Regions from separate parts of the Homo sapiens genome. Here region 1 is linked to region 2. The links are contacts of gene promoters, found by promoter capture Hi-C in blood cells and fetal thymus (Javierre and others, 2016). All regions are on one chromosome and are shown on one strand. Each heading gives the region's core, a stretch centred on a gene start or on the middle of the fragment in contact. The rest is flanking DNA. Distances are from core to core; before and after follow the strand shown.

The links. The method cuts DNA at HindIII sites, captures the fragments that hold promoters and counts their contacts. A CHiCAGO score of 5 or more calls a contact.
Region 1: a fragment that was not itself captured here is called in contact with the fragment with the promoter of SLC38A2 in region 2 in 1 of 17 cell types (naive CD4 T cells); the score reaches 5.8 in naive CD4 T cells.

What each region holds. Positions count from the first base shown.
Region 1 is chr12:47,678,543-47,685,629 of GRCh38, reverse strand. RPAP3 (RNA polymerase II associated protein 3) reads left to right here. Exons shown (of 17, transcript NM_024604.3): 10 at 3,813-3,934; 11 at 5,856-5,926; 12 at 6,036-6,137. Among named protein-coding and RNA genes, the nearest start is that of RPAP3, 24 kb to the left of the region's middle. The HindIII fragment of the contact is 2,548 bases long and covers 1,183-3,730 here.
Region 2 is chr12:46,369,844-46,376,123 of GRCh38, reverse strand. SLC38A2 (solute carrier family 38 member 2) reads left to right here and starts at 3,351. Exons shown (of 16, transcript NM_018976.5): 1 at 3,351-3,615; 2 at 4,745-4,946; 3 at 5,267-5,348; 4 at 5,497-5,612. The coding sequence starts at 4,831. SLC38A2-AS1 (SLC38A2 antisense RNA 1) reads right to left here and starts at 3,341. Exons shown (of 2, transcript NR_187299.1): 1 at 3,262-3,341; 2 at 2,346-2,811. RefSeq lists enhancers at 2,792-2,851, 3,532-3,611, 3,469-4,172, 3,862-4,191, 4,272-4,421 and silencers at 3,102-3,441, 3,642-3,841. The HindIII fragment of the contact is 15,961 bases long and covers 1-6,280 here.

The DNA.
Region 1 (7,087 bases), core at 1,207-3,706, 1.3 Mb before region 2:
GATTAGATTTCCAATGTGATAACACATGCCTTAGCTCTTTGTCTTCTGAATAACTACTAGGGCAGAGTTGCCCAACAGTTGCCAGCCTTGTCACAAGAGTATCTATAAACCAGACACTGCAATCACATGCAAATAAGCAACAGGTTAAATTTTTACTGTAATTCTGAATAGTGGTGAGCATAAGCAATATTTTGAGATACCAGTAACCGTTATAATGTGATATGGAAATATCTGATTTTTTTTTTTTTTTTGAGACAGAGTCCCCCTCTGTCACCCAGGCTGGAGTGCAGTGGTGTAATTTTGGCTCACTGCAACCTCCACCTCCCAGGTTCAAGCAATTCTCCTGCCTCAACCTCCCAAGTTGCTGGGTCTACAGGCATGCGCCATGACACCTAGCTAATTTTTGTATTTTTAGTAGAGATGGGGTTTTGCCATGTTGGCCAGGCTGGTCTCAAACTCCTGACCTCAGGTGATCTGCCCGTCTCGGCCTCCCAGAGTGCTGGGATTACAGGCAGGAGCCACCGCGCCCGGCCAAAATATCTGATTTTTATTGGTGACAAAGTGATAGATACTATTGTCTGCATTTGTATTTGAAAGATAGCTAAATTTTATTTGAAGTTTAGTGAAAACAGTGATACAGTTTTTTTCCTAAACAAGTTTCCACATCCCTCAGACAATCTCAGGTTAGGAGCTCCTGTCATAGAAATAAATTCTGATTATATATTTAACCTCATTTAAAGTAATAGATATCACTGGAGATAGATTCTTTTGTTGACTAGTCAGAGTGAAGATCATTGCATCTCTTGCTCACTTATGAAAATTTTGATTTTTGCTATCGAAGAATTGTGCATTGGTTTAAAAATTGTAAAGCCTGAGTTCGTTGGTTTGACTAATGCTAAGAGTAATGCCTTCTTACAGGTGAGAGATTATATATGCATTTATAAGATATCTAATTTATTGTATCAGTTTTATTTCTTTAGTTTATAATCGTATTAGTGGAATATATTATACCAAGTTAGCAGAGTATATTTTAAATTAAAAGAACTTATGACTCTTACTTGTATCTTTTCCTAGTGTATCTTTTAGATTCACAGTTAATATCAGAATTTTTTTCTGTACATGGAGACTGTTGTTATGTATTACGGACTATGTGAGGAACATAAAAAAGCAACATTTCAAGCTTAGACTACTCCTAGTTTAGGTAACCATCCTATAGCTTGAGGTTCTATAAACTGTGTCAAATTAGAGCTAATTAGAACCAGCAGTATAGTCAGTCTTACCTACCAGTGTGCGGGGTAGCAGTAGGGAGTAAGAAGAAATTCACCTAGTTAGGCCAACCGGGATTCCTAGAGAATGTGCTTTCTGGAGGTGATAGTCTAAATTAGTAGTTTGCATTGGGAGATGAGCAAGACATCCTTGAGTTACAATAATGGAGTGCCTGTGAGCTGGCAAATTGTGGAATGTAGGCTGGTAGATGGTTAGCTTCAGAAAGGCTGAAGAAATAAGAAGATAATCAGAAATAAGGACAGAAGTTTGGGCCAACATTGTAGTCCTTGAAGAGGACTGACCAAGAACAAATCTGAGTCCTATTCTTAGAGGGAGTAAAGCATAGATTTAGAGATAGGATAAGAAGAAAATAACCCAGTAGTATTAGATATTAGATTTGGGAAACAGGGTTGAGAGTTGGTCACAAAAATAAGGTAGAATCTTGGTTGCTGGAACTGGAACCAGACTAAGACTTGATTTAGTAGAGGGTGGTTCACTTAATGGTGATTAGGGGCGGCATTTACACTAGAGCCAGAGTAGACCTAGGGCAAGTGGACCTGACTGAAAATCAGAAGGAATCAGGGCTAAGGAGCTAGGCAGAGATGATAGTTTTTCGCACTCACCATTTTTATTCTATTTTTGATTAGTTTGTCTTTTTCTCCAACCACCTAAAAGATGTTTGTTGATTGGATTTTTCTAAATTCACTTTACAAATGGAGTGCACAGGAGACGTGTAATAATTTTAAAGGACTTAGGTGAGTCTATTTTCAAAGAATAATCGTCTACCTCTGTGGCAACTTCAGACTTTTAGAAAAATTGTTGGGTTTTCTTCAGCTGTACAGTAGAACATGCAATTAAATATGCAATTAAATATACAATTAAAATGATTTCCTAAACATTTATATTCTAAATTTTCTTTGAATTTGGGTGTTGGAAATTTTTTGATTTACTTATTCAGCAAATATTTATTGTGCTAAAATGTATCAGGTGTTCTGTGAGGCACTGTGGAAGGTATTAAGTATACAAATATTAAATGTATAGTTGTTTTTAAGAAACCCGAAATTTGCAGGGAGTGACAGAAAAGGAGACCAATATTTGTGAAAATACGCTAAGATAGCGCTATGAAGGACACGTGCTATAGGAGTTCAGAGTGGGAAGAATACTGGCATAGACTGAGTCCAGGCAGGGGAATTCCTGGAAAGCATCTTGAAATTGTTTAGGAGTAGTATGAGTTAGTGAGGTGAAAAAACAGGAAACAGGTCAAGTGTTCTAGTGCAGGTTCAAAGACGTGGGAGTAGGCAGGTTGATGGTACCTCAACCTGGAAAGGGTGAGTGGTTCGTATTATGGCTGTTATTGCAGGGGACAGTGGCAGAGAGAAGGCCAGATACTCAGGCAGGCCCCTGACTTTGCGCTCCAAAGGAATTGGACTTTATCTTGAAAAGTATGGGGGCCATGCAGGTATCTTGAATGATATAATCAGGCAAGTAGAAAATAACATTGATAAGGGCATGAACACAGATATATTCTTTATCTCTTGCTGGAAAGTGAGTTAAATAAATCAGAGATGTTTAAGTTCATTCGAAATTCTGATTTTTTTCATATGAGATTTTGTTTTGAGGGCAAGATGACATCCATTTAGGCCTTGGGGAGAATGCAATTACAGGAGTGTTTTTTTTTTTTTTAATATTCTTATGAAACTTTTCAAACTTATACAAAAGTAGTATAATAAACTCCATGTGTCCATCATCTAGTTCTAACAAGCCATACTTTTTTTGGTCATATTTGTTTCAGCATTTTCCCCCCGAATTATTGTAAAGCAAATCATAAACATTATGACGTTTATTGCTAAAGAAAGGATATTTTATACATAACCACAACCATTAGCACTCCTAAGAAATTAACAATAATTCATTAATGTCCTATTAATATATGGGAATGTCTGAAGTTTTTTTGTTATTGGGTTTTTTTGGTGGAGGGGGTTGAGCTCTTCTTAAGCACCTTGTTGTTGTAGAGCAGTAATGAGTAAGTCTGTAAGTCTGAATTGATTGCTGGTTGCATGGCTGAGTAGAATTTATGCAAAGTATTAGATGATATGCTATCACATTCGTACCAAGTTCTCATTTTTTTGTTTTTCTATGAGTATGGGAGGTTTACTGTGGGTAAATGTTAATAAAGTTTTATTAGAAAACTAATGCCAGTCAAAATTCTAATGTAATACCTGTGCATATTGAGACTTGGAGAAGAGGTAGGCAGAGAAGCAGTGGCATTCTTTTGTCTGCCCTAGTCATATTTTTGCATTATTATTTCATCGCTCCAGCAGACTCTCCTAACATTCCCTCAATCTGGTACCTTCTCCCTCCTCACCAAATGATTCCAGGATTTGGTGAGAATAAAAAATTTATAAAATAGTTCTCCACTTCAAACACAGATTTAGAAGTTAGTGATTGAAATTATATACAAGCTTTTTAAATTAGAAACTTAGTTTATATGACATTTTTCCATAAGCTGCCTTTTTTCCAGTCAGTAATTTTATCATGTTCAATAGATATGAAGAAGCTGAAAAAGACTGCACACAAGCCATTTTATTAGATGGCTCATATTCTAAAGCTTTTGCCAGAAGAGGAACTGCAAGAACATTTTTGGGAAAGCTAAATGAGGCAAAACAAGGTAAGACTTTATAACAGCTGGCACTCAGTCATCCTGATGAGTGCCCAAGTTAAAGAAGCAGAGATTCATGTAGCTTACCCATGGTTCAAAGATACTGAACTTAGGGAATTATGTTTTCTTTCCACAGTTTAGATCACGAATAGATTTGGAGGAATGCAGCTTCCGCAATGTACCAGATTATCTTTTTGTTTAGTAGCATTCTGGCTAATTTTGTTTAGTACATTCTGGCTAATTGCCAGTCAATATTAATGAAAAATTTTAATTATACATGAGAATGGAAAACGATAAAAAGACCAGAATGGAAAGGAAGGGAATCGGTGTTGTTGAGCGAAAGGGACTCACTGTGTGATATGCTTGAAGCCAATACTGTGACATCAGGTTTTTGAGAAAAGGCTTTATTTATATTGAAAGTTGACTCCTAAAGAGACAGGAATCAAACCCAAATCTGTCTCCTTGTCCTGGCCTTAAGGCAGTAATTTTATTAGAAAGGGTTTAGGGAGGTGGATACTGGAATTAGCAGGTAATTAGTGGAAGGAAAGGGAAAAGTTCTTGGGCATATGTAGCTATCTCTTCTTGCTAACTAATGGGATTGCAGGTGCAAATTTGGGGTAGTTAGTAGAACTTGGTGGAAATTCAGTTTGTGACATCAGCAAACTCGTTTTTGTGCAAACTCCACTTGGCCATCTTGGTTCCAAATGATTTCAGCCTGTTTTTTTTTTTTTGTTTCGTTTTTTTGTTTTTTTTTGAATCCCAGTAAGCAGAGGAAGTTTCTTTGTTTCAGCAAGTTGTATCTTTTCCTATCTGCCATCCTACAAACTGAAGAATTTCTGTTAGTGATTGATTTTTTTTTTTTAAAAAACTCTTCGGGCTGTGGTTTTATCAGCAGGTAGGGAATGGAGGATAATGGAGATCTGATACCATTTTAATTCTTGATACTATTTTTTTTCTTTGTTTTTATGGTCTTCTCTTTTAGGGTATTCATTGAATTAGTCTTTTCAGAGAACCAACTTGGTTCTCCTGTGTGTGTTTTCTATTTAATTTCCTTCTGCTTTTTATTTTATTCCTTCAACTTTCTTTTGGTTTAATTTGCTGTTTTTCTAGCTTCTTGAGATCAGTACTTAGATAATTGATTTTCAGCCTCTGTTCTTTCCTGGTATGTGCATTTAAAATCTGGCAGTTTCTCTATAAGCCTGTTAGCTACAGCAGTGTTTTTTTTATTGTGGTTAAAAAAAATATGTAACGTTAAATTTATTATTTTAACCATTTTTCAATATATAGCTCAGTGGCATTAAATACATTTACATTGTGCAGCCATCACCACTGTCCATCACCAGAACTTTGTCATCATCCCATTCTAAAACTCTATACACATTAAACAATAACTCTCCATTCTCCTCTCCTCCCAGCCCTAGTAACCTCCATTCTACTTTCTGTCTCTGAATTTGACTGTTCTAGATATCCTATGTAAGTGGAATCATGCAGTATTTGTCCTTTTGCCTCTGCTTATTTAACTTAGCATAATGTCCATGTTGGAGCATATATCAGAATTTCATTCCTTTTTAAGGCTGAGTAATACTTTGTTGTATGTAATTCTCTTATTCTATTAATATTTTACATTTAGTGAGTTACTCTGTCATTTGTTTACATGGTGAACTTTGCTAAGTTAGATGACCTCTAGGGGCCTCAGTTTTATCACCTTTAAAGTGGGGTTGTAGTGAGGGTTACGTGAACATTCATATAAAACAACTACAACAGTGTTCAGTAAATGTTCTTACTATAGCTCACCTGTTTCCTAGTAATCTGAGTAAAACTGCTTGAGCTAAAAATGTGATTACTAACTGAATATATCATGAATATACATGCGAATATGAAAACTCCACATTTTAACTATGTTGTAATGTTTTTAAAAAATTCGCTTTAGATTTTGAAACTGTTTTACTTCTGGAACCTGGAAATAAGCAAGCAGTAACTGAACTCTCCAAAATTAAAAAGGTAATGTATTCTTTTCACCCAAACATGGTCATATTTTCTGAAACATAAATATATTTATTTGTTGTATAATAAATATTTTGAAAGTTAGGGTTATAAATTTATTTTCAAGGAATTAATTGAGAAAGGACACTGGGATGATGTCTTTCTTGATTCCACACAAAGACAAAATGTGGTAAAACCCATTGATAATCCACCGCATCCTGGATCAACTGTAAGTAAAGCACTTTCATTTTTTCCTTGCCATTTAAATATGTTGTAATAGGAGAATTGGAAACCAACTATTGTATTAATAAACTTTTTTTTTTTAATTATACTTTAAGTTCTAGGGTACATGTGCACAACGTGCAGATCTGATACATAGGTATACATGTGCCATGTTGGTTTGCTGCACCCATCAACTCATCATTTACATTAGGTATTTCTCCTAATGCTATCCCTCCCCCAACCCACCACCCGCAACAGGTCCCAGTGTGTGATGTTCCCTGCCCTGTGTCCAGGTGATCTCATTGTTCAGTTCCCACCTATGAGTGAGAACATGCGGTGTTTGGTTTTCTGTCTTGTGATAGTTTGCTGAGAATGATGGTTTCCAGCTTCATCCATGTCCCTGCAAAGGGCATGAACTCATCGTTTTTTATGGCTGCATAGTATTCCGTGGTGTATATGTGCCACATTTTCTTAATCTAGTCTATCATTGGTGGATATTTGGGTTGGTTCCAAGTCTTTGCTATTGTGAATAGTGCCTCAGTAAACATACGTGTGCATGTGTCTTTATAGTAGCATGATTTATAATCCTTTGGATATATACCCAGTAATGGGATTGCTGGGTCAAATGGTAATTCTAGTTCTAGATCCTTGAGGAATCGCCACACTGTCTTCCACAATGGTTGAACCAGTTTACACTCCCAGGAACAGTGTAAAAGCGTTCCTATTTCTCCACATCCTCTCCAGCATCTGTTGTTTCCTGACTTTTTAATGATTGCCATTCTAACTGGCATGAGATGGTATCTCATTGTGGTTTTGATTTGCATTTCTCTGATGGCCAGTGATGATGAGCATTTTTTCATGTGTCTGTTGGCTGCATAAATGTCTTCTTTTGAGAAGTGTCTGTTCATATCCTTTGCCCACTTTTTGATGGGGTTGTTTGTTTTTTTCTTGTAAATT
Region 2 (6,280 bases), core at 2,102-4,601:
AGCTGCCTACCACAAGGAATAATGGGAAATAAGATTGGAAATATGGGCTGGGACAGATAAAAGAAAGCCATAGAAGCTAATCTGCGAATGAAACTATACAGTTGGAAATGGAGGGTAGAGAAAAGCAAATTTTATGTGTAAGCCCACTTTTGGCAAATTGTAGTGCTGGATAAATAGAATTTTGAGGGTCATCTTAAAAACCAGTTGTTTAACAACAAGTAGAAAATGTCAACCAATGACAGCTTCCAGGAAACAGAACCACTCTATTTTATCAGGAAATAATGGTCAAAAAATTGTACAGAACATAGCTACCTACCTTCAATAAATAGTTCTAACAATCTATCCTGACAATGCATTCCTGAAAATCCAGAATTGATAACTGATTTTTGTGACAGTTTTTCTGTCTTAGGATAGGAAATAAGATTCAATTTCAGTAGCTTTCAAAATTCTTTGACCCCCCCCCAAACCACAGCAAGACATACATTTTACATCAGCAGTCCCCAACCTTTTGGCACCAGGGACCAGTCTTGTGGAAGACAATTTTTCCACAAAAAAATTGGGGGAGATGGTTTCAGGATGAAACTGTCCTACCTCAGATTGTCAGGCATTAGTTAGATTCTCATAAGAAGTATGCAACCTAGATCCCTCACATGTGCAGTTCACAATAGGGTTCGTGCCCCTATGAGAATCTAATGCCACCACTGATCAGGCCAAATGCTGGCTGAACTGCCACTCACCTCCTGCTGTGCAGCCCAGTTCCTAACAGGCTTCAGACTGGTACCAGTCTGCTGCCCAGGGGTTGGGGACCCCTGTTTTACATCACAACTCATAATACACACACACATATATATACAGACACACATAATCACATATATGTATACATATGTATACATATATACACACATATATATACACATAATCAAGATAAAAGATTTACAGAATAATAGTACATATGGCATACTGATTTTTTAAAAAAAATTATTCTATTCTACTGCATTGAAGAAAATAGAAAGCTAGTACTAATCCACTGAATTCATCACTATCCACCACTTGGTCCCATTCTGAAAGTTTAAAAAATGCTGCTCTTCTAGAACATTAGCTTAGAAATCAAACAAAATTATAGCGCACTGACCAATAGGTATTTGGCAATATCGTTTCCCAGAAATTGAATGAGGACACTGTGTCCAATGCATTCAAGCCCAAAGCATAACAGCAATTGCTCAGAGCACATCAGGCCTCAGTTGGAAGTCTGATGGAGTTAGCAGGCATGCCTCAGTTTGGCCCTCGAAAAGACCAATCAAACTGGCAATAAAAACATGGAAGTTTCACCCCTCCACCCTTCTTTTTTTGTCATTTACTGTTCAAGTTCTGATCATACAGAGACCAGATCAATATTGCAGCTCCCCCCCCCGCCCCTGCCCTCCACTTTGCCCTCAGCTGTACAGGTATTGTGCTTCTCCTAAATATGTGTTGCAATACAAACCACCAAAAAGTCCAAAAGACATGAGATTTACTTATAGTGCCACTTGCCACCCATAACTACCAACCCTGAGGGCCTCCTTAGCACCTCTAACTGGGCAGAGGAAACGACCAGAGATTCATCTGGAATGAAAAAGTGGTTTAAGACCTTTTGATTGTTATCAGTTGAAACCTAATATAAAGAAACTTCCTGGGACTCCTCTCTAACCTACCACTACCAAGATTGTTGTGACAAGAAGAGTTGATTGATTTTATTGGGGAATGTATGTGGAAGGAAGATAGTTTTTTCAGCCCTAATTGTGTGTCAAATTCCAAACCTGCCCTTGGGGAGTTCACAATCTTTGGGCAGATGATACTACAAATAGTCTGGAACGATTTTGAGTGCATGACAGCACGGATTTTTAAAAGTCCGTCACCATATTGTTTTAGAAAATAGTACCTGCAAAAAGAGGGCTGAGTACGGAGGGATTAAGGCATGCGGGGCGCTTTCCTGTGGCTCGAAGACTAAGCCTTGCATGACAGCGGCATTTAAGGGGATGAGAGGAGATTGGACACCAAAGCAAGAATGGCTATTATTTAAGACTGGCCTGAACAGAGTAGAAGGTTTGCGGTAGGGAAGACTGGCCTGAACAGAGTAGAAGGTTTGGGGTAGGGAACACAGGAGTGTGATGGGGGAAATCGGGACCTCGCTTGTCAATCATAAACACTGGTGCAGGCGAGGGCACCCGAAGCCTCACGTGCGGCGGAAATAGGCAGTTGTACGGATTTCCTCAGTAAAACATTGAAAGCAAAAACTGCGATCACACCCAGCCCTTTCCTCTATGCCCTGCCCAATTTCTCCCAAGTCCCCAAAAGGAAGAGAGCAGTAGGTCAAACTTGTTTATTCATTCATTCCATGAACATTTCTCTCTCCTAAGGGGTCTTTGTTTCCTGCAAGGGAGTGAGTCTTGCCTTTCCCGCAGCACCAATTTTTCCACAGCGAAGGGTCCCCCTAGTTGCCTGGCTCAGCAAGACCACACACATCACCATTGAAGGGAAAGGACCAGGCTCCGCAGAAAGCGCCTCAGACCCGCATTCAGACAAGGCAGTGCCTTTGCCCGGGGCGGCGGTGGTGGGATAAGAGAAGCAACGTGTCAGCGAGTGGAAAACTGGGGACTCCCAAACGGCCTTAGGAGCGCCGGGCTCCCCACTGGGGCCTCTTTCTAAGGGGCCTGGCTTGCTGGCCAAAAGGTAGCCTTTCCGCTAGTCCAGTTTCCATGGCCGTACAAAAAGCACATCCCGAAAAGGAGCTGCTCGCCGACCTCCGGCTAGTTTTGAAGAGTGAAAGCAGGTCTAGGTGGAAAAGAAAGAACAACAAACCATCAGGACAACCTTGCTGCCTTGGCCCAAGTTTGTGAGACAAAACTTCACTGTAAATCACAAAAATAACAATCAAGAAAGTGTTTGGTGGGAGGGTGGTGTCCCCCAAAAGCCTTGATGTGTCCCCCGAAAGCAAGGACTGCTGGTGACTCGGACAGGAGAAAATTTTAAGGAGATGGCTCCTCAAAGACAACCGCATGTGTTGAGCACCAACCCTGGCTGAAAAGGATAGGCAGGGGAAGCATCTGGGGGTCTTTCCAGACTATCTAGAAAGCTGGAGAGAGTGGGCTTGGGCTTTGCGGGAGAGTCTTGGGGGCGCCTGCGGGCGGGGCTGGGCCGCGGGCGCGGGCCGCAGAGGGAGGGGCAGGGAGGCGGGGCCTAGGTCTGGGCGGGTCGGAGGCGGGGCCCAGGTGGTGTTGATACACAAAGAGAAGGCGCCCGGGCGGCCGCGGTCCCGCCCACTGACGCGTCCCCGGGGTGCCGCTATAACCCGCCGCTCGCAGGGCTGCTCCACAGCCGCGCGACGCCGCCGCCTTAGAACGCCTTTCCAGTACTGCTAGCAGCAGCCCGACCACGCGTTACCGCACGCTCGCGCCTTTCCCTTGACACGGCGGACGCCGGAGGATTGGGGCGGCAATTTGTCTTTTCCTTTTTTATTAAAATTATTTTTCCTGCCTGTTGTTGGATTTGGGGAAATTTTTTGTTTGTTTTTTATGATTTGTATTTGACTGAGAGAAACCCACTGAAGACGTCTGCGTGAGAATAGAGACCACCGAGGTAACGCGTGCGGGGGGGCGTCTGTGGGAAGGGCGCGGGGCCCGGGCGAGAGTGGGGGAGGGGCTTCCGGGAGGGGCCGCGCGGGAAGGCGGCCGCGGGGTCCGTTTCCTTTCGAGGCGGGCGTTGTCGGTTGGGCTGGCCAGCCTTCCACCCTGGCCCGCCGCGCGGGTGTCGCGCCCGCGACGTGGGTAGGAGAGCGGGCGCTGGGCGGGGGCCGCGTGCCTGCACGGTGCGGAGCCGCATCTTCCCATTAGGGGGAGGGGAGCTAGCCCGGCCAGCGGCTCTGCTGCGGCAAGTCTTGTGACTGATTTGCATTTAATAAAAAAAAAAAATTAAGTCCAGGGAGCCAGGAATCTGGGGGCGGCGGAGGTGGGCTTGGGCATGTATTACAGGAGAGGCCAAGATTGGGGAAGACGAGTTGGGAACATTTGACAATCGACGATCGATATTGCATCAGTTTTCTTTCCGGACATAGGAGGGGCTGGGCGGGCGTAGCACTCGCGGGCCAGCTGCCTGTGGACGGGTGTGCTTGAGGGCACTGGCGCGCGTGTGTAAACAAACCCCCAGCTCCCGGGGCCCGGGCGTTCGCCCCCCTCGAGAGAGGAGTAGTGTCGGCCCTTTCCGCCTCCTGGGGAAGGCTGTCTGCGGCAGAGGCATTTCTCCGTGTGGGGACTCCGGGCAGTAAAGGACAGATTACGCAGCATTGCTGTTCCAAATGCTAGAAACGGAAAGCCGTGCGCCTAGGTTGCATGCACACGAGCCAGGGTCGGGGCTGGATGTGTGCCCTGAGTGCCTGTGCAAGTTTGGAGCGACTGGGAAAAAGCAAAACAGAACCCCCCCTCGCCCCCTCCACTCCGACGAGGGACAATAGAGAGGGTGAAATACTGAAATCTGCCGGAGTAGGGGGCCTCGACGGCCGCAACACAGCGGTGGCATCATCTTTGTTCTCCCCGCGGCTCCGCCGTCTGTACTTTTCCGCCCCTCGGCGCGCCCCCGCCCCTCGCGCGCGGCTGGTACTTTTCCACTCGCCTGGCCTGGGATGAATCAGCCGCGCTGCGCCTCCGGGCGGCGTCACGTGACCGCGGCGGGCTGGCGCTGCGGTCCTGACGCGCCGCCTCTACTTTCGCAGGCCGACTCGCGGGCCGCTGCACCCACCGCCAAGGACAAAAGGAGCCCAGCGCTACTAGCTGCACCCGATTCCTCCCAGTGCTTAGCATGAAGAAGGCCGAAATGGGACGATTCAGTATTTCCCCGGATGAAGACAGCAGCAGCTACAGTTCCAACAGCGACTTCAACTACTCCTACCCCACCAAGCAAGCTGCTCTGAAAAGGTGGGAGAAGTTGTGACACTTTTGAAAAAACGGCTTGCATGGGTTGGGTTCAGGGAGTTACCTAGGACTCTGCTTCCATTGCTTTAATTTGCTATAGCATTTAGAGAAGGTGCGTAATCTCTGAAAGAGTATCCGATTATCTTGTTGTAATGACAAGATAGCTGGTGTGAAAGTCAACTCCTAGTTAATATTTATACATTAAGTAAAGATGTTGTATCAGAGCTATGCTGTTGGAGGGTATTTTATGTTAAAGCAGTCTTGTGTGTAATGATAGATATTTCAATCCAGTTTACAATTATATATGTCTATATTTTTTGCAGCCATTATGCAGATGTAGATCCTGAAAACCAGAACTTTTTACTTGAATCGAATTTGGGGAAGAAGAAGTATGAAACAGAATTTGTAAGTTAAAAATAGTAATTTGTCTGTCAGTGGCTTTATGGAGTAAAAGAATAGTTTTACTTTTAGAATTCAAATCTAACTTGCCCAAAGCTGGTTTTCTCCATTTAATTATTGTTATATGTTTGGTTATCGTTTTCCCTCTATGTAGCATCCAGGTACTACTTCCTTTGGAATGTCAGTATTTAATCTGAGCAATGCGATTGTGGGCAGTGGAATCCTTGGGCTTTCTTATGCCATGGCTAATACTGGAATTGCTCTTTTTATGTAAGTATGTGTAAGTAGTGAGTCTGCCATGCAGGGCAGTTACTATGGTAAAACATATTTTGGCTCCAGAAACTGAATTTACAGTTGGAGTAGCTGACTCAAAAGTTACTTGCTTAAAATTAAAAGTATGAGAAACCCCAAAAAATCTCTTTATTCTACTACATACTGCACAATATCAAGAAAGCCAACTAGAAAAAAATAGGGCAGTCCTTAAAACTGACAAATTAAGCCAGAAGTCTTCTAAGTCAGTGGGAATAGTTAAAACAAAATTGTAACAGATGGTAGATATTAAAAAAACTATGGCTAAAGCCAGGGTAGGTATAAATTTTGTTTTGGCAAATCAGAAGCTGAAAATCCTAATAAGCTCCAAATCATTTTGGTAAATCGACACAGTTCTTAAGGACCTGTGGCCCCTTACGTGAATAAGGAAAAGAAAATTTCTCTAAACATACAAGGTGTGGTGGTATTTACCCAGCCTGGAACATGTTTGTTTTAAGACGAGGAGGTCATAATTTTCTGGACCCTGAAAAGCAATCCATACATGTTTTTTTAATGTTTGCTTTTGTCAGACCTGTTCGATTGCCACATGTTGTGGCAAAAAATGAATACTTTAGTAAGTACTTATTTTTAAATGGTTCCCCCCACAGTTGCACAGTTAGACTTAATTA